Linked DNA regions of Homo sapiens: region 2 is linked to region 1. The links are contacts of gene promoters, found by promoter capture Hi-C in human tissues and cell types (Jung and others, 2019). All regions are on one chromosome and are shown on one strand. The core of a region is centred on a gene start or on the middle of the fragment in contact, and the rest is flanking DNA. Distances in the headings are between cores, read along the strand shown. Region 1 holds the start of RILPL1 (Rab interacting lysosomal protein like 1). Region 2 overlaps RILPL2 (Rab interacting lysosomal protein like 2).

Region 1 (3,639 bases), core at 460-2,959:
GGTGCTGTTACCTACCTGTGGGTCTGCCCTCAGGTAAAGGGTTCAGACCCAGCTTTGGCTATTTTACTCCAAAACACAGAGATCCATCAAAGTACACAATAAGGGATGGCCTGCCCCTGAGGTTCAGAGAGGCCATCTGTATTTCCTGAGGCTGAACAGCAAGCTGGAGACTGCTCAGGCACCCTGATCCCTCAAGGAAAGGTGTTTCCTCCCATTCTCAGTCTGAAGGGGCTGCCAAGAGCATCCCTGGCTGAGGTTAGGGCAGGAAACCACATGTCTTTCACTTCCTTTTCTCCAGAAACCTCGTCTGAACTCCAGGCCCAGTGGGGAGGCCCTGATTCAGAGAGACTCCTGATCACAGGGCAGAGGCTTAGCCTTAAAGCCACCCCAAATCATCCCTTTCCCCCAATTCAAACAGGGTGGGGAGGAGACACGGGGGCTGGGACTCTCTCACCACTAATTTGGGACAAATTGCTCCTCCCACTGTGACCCTCGGTTTCTTTATCTGTAAAATGAAGATAGTCTCTATAGAGTCCTGTGAGGATTAAGGATAAAATCAGAGGAGAGAACACGGGCTACCACAGGTTCATAAGCTAGGGGAGTCCCGGGAAGAAAGTTGCAAATATGAACCCGAAGACTAGGGGTCACGAAGCTCAGTGGCTGGAGGTCACATTCCCTTTGCTCTGGGGAGACTGGGGGGGGGGGGGATGAAGAAAGGGTCCTGGGCCTGATGTCACATCTTCTTGGTAACTCGGGAGGCCAAGAGGCTTATTTCATGTCTGGAAGAGAATAATATGTCTAAGCACTTAGCTTATATGGTCCCATTTAATTCTTCTAAGGTGGGTCCTATTATGATTACCATTTGACAGGTGAGGAAATAAAGCACAGAGAGGTTAAGTAACTTACCTAAAGTCACACAGCTATTAAACGGTAAAGGTGGGATTGGAACTCCAGAGAACAGCTCTTAATCTCTCGGGTGGTATCTGCCAGCCACCCCTGGTCGGGCAAAAGAAGGCCAGGGCCTCCCTCCCTCCCCACGTCGGGTCTCCTCTGGTCCGGTCCCTGAACACACACACGTGCGCACCCACAGCTGCCCAATGCGGAAGAGCCCTTGGGTCCCCGCGGTCCCACTGCCCGGACGGACAGACCGAGGCCGCCGCCCACCTTCTGGTGCTTGCGCTCCTTCTCGATGCGGTCCATCCTCTCCAGGCGCAGGCGGTCCAGCTCCAGGCGCAGCTCGTCCAGCTCGGGCGCGACGTGGTGGCGGCTGACCAGCACCTCCAGGATCTCCAGGACGCGCACGACCTTGGGCATGAGGCGCGCGATGGCCTCGCAGCCGTGCTGGTCAATGACCCGCTCGAACTCGTGGCCCACAAGCGACGCGATGTCGTACACGTCCATGACGGTCAGCTCGGCCACGTTCTTCTCCAGCGCCGACTCGGCCGCCAGCGCCGACCCCCGCTCCTCCTCCATGGCCACCCTCCTGGCCTGTCCCCCGCCCCGCAAACTCGTGCAACTCCCAAACTTGCCGCTGTCGAGGGCCGGGCCGGCCGGGCCCAGCCTGGGCCGCGGGCGGGCGCGCTCAGCGGGCGCTGGGGCGAGGGCGCAGCGGGCAGCGGGCGGCGGGCGCGGGCGCGGGCACGGGCGGCGGCGCGGGGTGTGCGGGCCCGGGGTCTGGGCGCCCGGCTCGGCCCGGAGCTGCTCCCGAGTGGGCGGCGGCGGCGGCGGCGGCGGCGGCGGCAGCGGGGAGGGCGCGCGCGTGCGCAGGCCCGCGGCGCCTCCCAAGTTGGGATCCGAGTTGCGCTCAATGGAGCCGGGCCGGGCGCCTCGGGGCGGTGCGGGCCTGAGGGGCGGCAGAGCGCGGGGCCGGAGAGGAAGGGCGGCCCGCGGCTCCTCCGGGAAACTTTGGCGGCGGCGGCTGCGAGGCCGGGTGATCGCTTCCCCACAGGGAGGCCGCGCGCCCCGCCCCAATCCCGGCCTGGCCAGGGGCGCGCCCGCTTTCCGCCGCCCGGGGGCGCCCCGGGGTACCCCCCCAAGCGCCGACTCCGCGGCCTGCACTCCGGGCCCCCCTCTCCAGCCGCCGGACCCGCGGCGCCCCTCACCCGTGCCCCGGCCGCCCCTCCCCCGCCCGGCGCTGACTCCTCCCACCACCCGGCCGCCGGGAGGGGTCCAGGCCGCCCCGGGAGAGGGGGCCGGGGGCGCTGGTCTCGCGGGACGATTCGCTGCTCCGGGTAGCGGCCCCGGCCTTGGAGAGGGATGGAGGGGTCACGAGGAGGTCCCCGGGCTGGGGCTCATCCCAGGAAGAGAACGGGGACCCCCCCCGGCCCGCAGACACTCCGCGCAGACCCGGCCACCAGGCGGACTTGCAGAGGCGCCCGGAGAGGGGCCGACGTGTCGAGGAATGCTGGATCCCCGGAGCCCCAGGGCGCGCCTCCCCGAGCCACATCCATCACTGGCTCCTTGTGACATGAACGCCACTTCACAGTAGAGCGAAGCCCGCTTGGCATTCCAGCACCACGAGTTCTCTTGTCCCAAGGCCCCCTGTCCATTTGGGCTGGCCAAATCCACTTGTCCATCAGACCCCCTCCCACTCCCGGGAGAACGTTTCCTGAACCCAGAACCCCATCCACCCTCCCCGCCCCCCACGCAGGAGTTAAGGACCCCCTTGCAAACTCACAGTCCCCTGCTTGCCCCATCAGGATTGCTCTTAGCATCCTGAGTTTTCACCGTGTGGTTGCAGGTAGGTTTCCACCGTCAGATCTTGGCTCCTTGAGGGAAGAAATCTTAATGCCCTTGTAGCCATAAAGCGCACCCCAACGTGGCACGTATTGATTAAAAATCTAAAAGTTGGCCGGGCGCGGTGGCTCACGCCTGTAATCCCAGCACTTTGGGAGACTGAGGTGGACGAGGTCAGGAGTTCAAGACCAGCCTAGCCAAGGTGGTGAAACCCCGTCTCTACTAAAAATACAAAAATTAGCCGGGCATGGTGGCGCATGCCTGTAATCCCAGCTACTCAGGAGGCTGAGGCAGAGAGTTGCTTAAACCCGGGAGGCGGAGGTTGCAGCAAGCCGAAATCGCGCCACTGCACTGCAGGCTGGGTGACAGAGCAAGACTCCATCTCAAAATAATAATATAATACAATAAATAAATAAATAAATAGTAAAAAAAAAAAAATTAAGGCCAGGCGGGGTGGCTCACGCCTGTAATCCCAGCACTTTGGGAGGCCGAGGTGGGAAAATTTCTAGAGCTCAGGAGTTCGAGACCAGCCTGGCCAACATGGTGAAACCACGCCTCTACTAAAAATACAAAAATTAGCCAGACATGGTGGCATGTGCCTGTAATCCCAGCTACTCAAGAGGCTGAGGCGCGAGAATCATTTGAGCCTGGGAGGCAGAGGTTGCAGTGAGCCAAGATCGTGCCACTGCACTCCAGCTTGGGCAACAAGAGCGAAACTCCGTCTCAAAAAAAAAAAAGAAAAAAAAAAAAGTAAAATAAAAAAATTAGCCAGACGTGGTGGTGAGAGCCTGTAGTCCCAGGTATTTGGGAGGCTGAGGTGGGAAGATCCCTTGAGCCTGGGAGGCAGAGGTTGCAGTGAGTTGAGATCACACCACTATGCTCCAAACTGGGCGACAGAGCGAA
Region 2 (3,639 bases), core at 740-3,239, 120 kb before region 1:
AGGTCAGGAGTTCGAGACCAGCCTGGCCAATATGGTGAAACCCCGTCTCTACAAAAATACAAAAATTAACCCAGTGTGGTGGCATATACCTATAGTCCCAGCTAGTCGGGAGGCTGAGGCAGGAGCATCGCTTGAATCTGGGAGGCAGAGATTGCAGTGAACCCAGATGGTGCCACTGCACTCCAGCCTGGGCGATAGAGCAAGACTCCGTCCCCACCACCCCCCAAAAAAAAGCCGGGTGCGGTGGCTCACGCCTGTAATCCCAGTGTGTCCGGAATTGGTGGGTTCTTGGTCTCACTGACTTCAAGAATGAAGCCGCGGACCCTCGCGGTGAGTGTTACAGTTCTTAAAGGTGGCGTGTCCAGAGTTTGTTCCTTCTGATGTTCAGATGTGTTCGGAGTTTCTTCCTTCTGGTGGGTTCGTGATCTCGCTGGCTCAGGAGTGAAGCTGCAGACCTTCGTGGTGAGTGTTACAGCTCTTAAGGCGGCGCGTCTGGAGTTGCTCGTTCCTCCTGGTGGGCTCCTGGTCTCCCTAGCTTCAGGAGTGAAGCTGCAGACCTTCGGGGTGAGTATTACAGCTCATAAAAGCAGTGTGGACCCAAAGAGTAAGCAGTAGTAAGATTTATTGCAAAGAACAAAAGAACAAAGCTTCCACAATGCGGAAAGGAACCCGAGCGGGTTGCCACTGCTGCCTGGGGCAGCCTGCTTTTATTCTCTTATCTGGCCCCACCCACATCCTGCTGATTGGTAGAGCCAAGTGGTCTGTTTTGACAGGGCGCTGATTGGTGCGTTTACAATCCCTGATCTAGACACAAAGGTTCTCCACGTCCCCACCAGATTAGCTAGATACAGAGTGTGGACACAAAGGTTCTCCAAGGCCCCACCAGAGTAGCTAGATACAGAATGTCGATTGGTGCATTCACAAACCCTGAGCTAGACACAGGGTGCTGATTGGTGTGTTCACAAACCTTGAGCTAGATACAGAGTGCCGATTGGTGTATTTACAATCCCTGAGCTAGACACAAAGGTTCTCCACGTCCCCAGCAGACTCAGGAGCCCAGCTGGCTTCACCCAGTGGATCCCGCACCGGGGCTGCAGATGGAGCTGCCTGCCAGTCCCGTGCCCTGTGCCTGCACTCCTCAACCCTTGGGTCGTTGATGGGACTGGACACCATGGAGCAGGGGGTGGGGCTCGTGGAGGAGGCTTGGGCCGCACAGGAGCCCACGGAGGGGGTGGGAGGCTCAGGCATGGCGGGCTGCAGGTCCCGAGCCCTGCCCCACGGGAAGGCAGCTAAGGCCCGGCGAGAAATCGAGCGCAGCGCCGGTGGGCTGGCACTGCTGGGGGACCCAGCACACCCTCAGCAGCCGCTGGCCCGGGTGCTAAGCCCCTCATTGCCCGGAGCCGGCAGGGCCCGCCAGCTGCTCCGAGTGCGGGGCCCACCAAGCCCACGCCCACCCGGAACTCCAGCTGGCCCGCAAGCGCCCCGCGCAGCCCCGGTTCCCGCTCGCGCCTCTCCCTCCACACCTCCCTGCAAGCTGAGGGAGCGGGCTCCGGCCTTGGCCAGCCCAGAAAGGGGCTCCCACAGTGCAGCGGTGGGCTGAAGGGCTCCTCAAGTGCCGCCAAAGTGGGAGCCCAGGCAGAGGAGGCGCCGAGAGCGAGCGAGGGCTGTGAGGACTGCCAGCACGCTGTCACCTCTCACCAGCACTTTGGGAGGCTGAGGCGGGTGGATCACGAGGTCAGGAGATCGAGACCATCCTGGCTAACACGGCGAAACCCTGTCTCTACTAAAAATACAAAAAAATTAGACGAGTGTGGTGGCAAGTGCCTGTAGTCCCAGCTACTCAGGAGGCTGAGGCAAGAGAATGGCGTGAACGTAGGCAGCAGAGCTTGTAGTGAGCCGAGATCGTGCCACTGCACTCCAGACTGTGCGACAGAGCGAGAGACTCCGTCTCAAAAAAAAAAAAAAAAAAAATCTATAAACTGGTGCACCGGTACCGGTCCCCATCTCCCCAGGTTATGAGGAACAAATGAGATAATCCACAGAGCAGGCGAAACACATTGAGTAAGCCACTGTTATTTACTAAGAAGACAGGCTCACGGAATGGTTGCGGCAGCCTCATTAGTTCCTTTGCGAAGTGCAGACACCCGCTCTCTGTTTCATTGATTCCTAAATGCATTTTGTTCACATCTTAACACCTCTGAAATCAGGATGAGTCCTAAAATCGATAGCTTCTTAACATTTTAGTTTGCAGCAATCTTTCCCTTCATAGTGACACCAGATAATCGTGCATCGCTTAGACTGAATGAATGCAATTGATTCATTATACAATGAAATGTAGATATATGACATATACACACATATACCATGTGTACCATCGTAACTAAGAGACCACTCTAGATAAGCTATAGAAAGTATAAAAATCATTTTACTTTAATACAAAATCACATAAAGAAAGGCATGTTGGCTAAATCAAATATTCACTAAATATCAGTGAAGTCACCACTGGAATCTCAATAGCACATTTTCCTGCTTTCTTTTCTCCCTTCTGCTAACCATTGAAGACCAGGGTCATCCGTGGGAGCAGATGAGTAGGACACGCGTCTGCACGCTGGAGGCCCTGGGGGTTGACATGGGAGCAGGAAGTGGACCCCCCCACCCTGCACATCCCTTCTGTTTTTCTTGATTTCAGTCTCACTGGCCCAGGCCAAATCTTCAAGGGTGTCTAGTTCTGCAGCCAGGGAGAAAGTGATGCCAAGAGAACCTCGTCTCCTCCCTCCTCAGTCTGCTTTGAAGGGGAAATAAATACACAGGCCTAGTGTGTCTGTGTGGCACAGGGAGGTGGTTTTGCCAGGCATCTTGGAAGGTTGTCTTCTAGAATCAGAGCCATAGCCTTACTTGTGGCCTTGGATCTAGGTCTGTTTCCCCGATCGAAAAAAGAACCTGGTGTGGAGAGAGAGAGGGTTCAGGGTAAGCAGAAGGAACAAAGCAAGGGGCACAGCAACCCCCGTAAAATTTCTAAGTAGCTCTTGCAGCTGTTGACTCAAAAATATGTCCAGGCCAGGCATTGTGGCTCACGCCTGTAATCCTATGATTTTGGGAAGCTGAGGCAAGAGGATGAGGATCACTTGATCCCAGGAGTCTCAGACATGCCTGGGCAGCATAGTGAGACCCCATCTCTAAAAAAAAAAAAAAATTAACCAGGCGTGGTGGCATACACCTGTAATCCCAGCTACTCAGGAAGCTGAGGCAGGAGAATCGCTTGAACCCGGGACGCAGAGGTTGCAGTGAGCCGAGATTGCGCCACTGCACTCCAGCCTGGGCGACAGAGCAAGACACTATCTCAAAAGAAAAAGAAAAAGCAAAAAAACCCCAAAAAACCCGGGTGCGGTGGCTCATGCCTGTAATCCCAGCACTTTGGGAGACGGAGGCAGGCAGATCATGAGGTCAGGAGATCGAGACCATCCTGGCTCACACGGTGAAACCCCGTCTCTACTAAAAATACAAAAAATTAGCCGGGTGTGGTGGCGGGCGCCTGTAGTCCCAGCTGCCTCGGGAGGCTGAGGCAGGAGAATGGCATAAACCCGGGAGGCGGAGCTTGCAGTGAGCCAAGATGGTGCCACTGCACTCCAGCCTGGGTGA

The links. Contacts are between HindIII fragments. The study calls those that stand out against the background at their distance.
Region 2: a fragment that was not itself captured here is called in contact with the fragment with the promoter of RILPL1 in region 1 in 3 of the 25 tissues and cell types used here (dorsolateral prefrontal cortex, small bowel and thymus).

The regions. Positions count from the first base shown.
Region 1 is chr12:123,532,010-123,535,648 of GRCh38, forward strand. It overlaps RILPL1 (Rab interacting lysosomal protein like 1), which reads right to left and starts at 1,710. Exons shown (of 7, transcript NM_178314.5): 1 at 1,165-1,710. The coding sequence starts at 1,473. RefSeq lists an enhancer at 711-1,528 and silencers at 1,744-2,433, 2,453-2,638. The HindIII fragment of the contact is 25,082 bases long and covers 1-3,639 here.
Region 2 is chr12:123,412,982-123,416,620 of GRCh38, forward strand. RILPL2 (Rab interacting lysosomal protein like 2) reads right to left here. Exons shown (of 4, transcript NM_145058.3): 4 at 2,058-2,940. The coding sequence ends at 2,910. Among named protein-coding and RNA genes, the nearest start is that of RILPL2, 22 kb to the right of the region's middle. The HindIII fragment of the contact is 7,685 bases long and covers 1-3,639 here.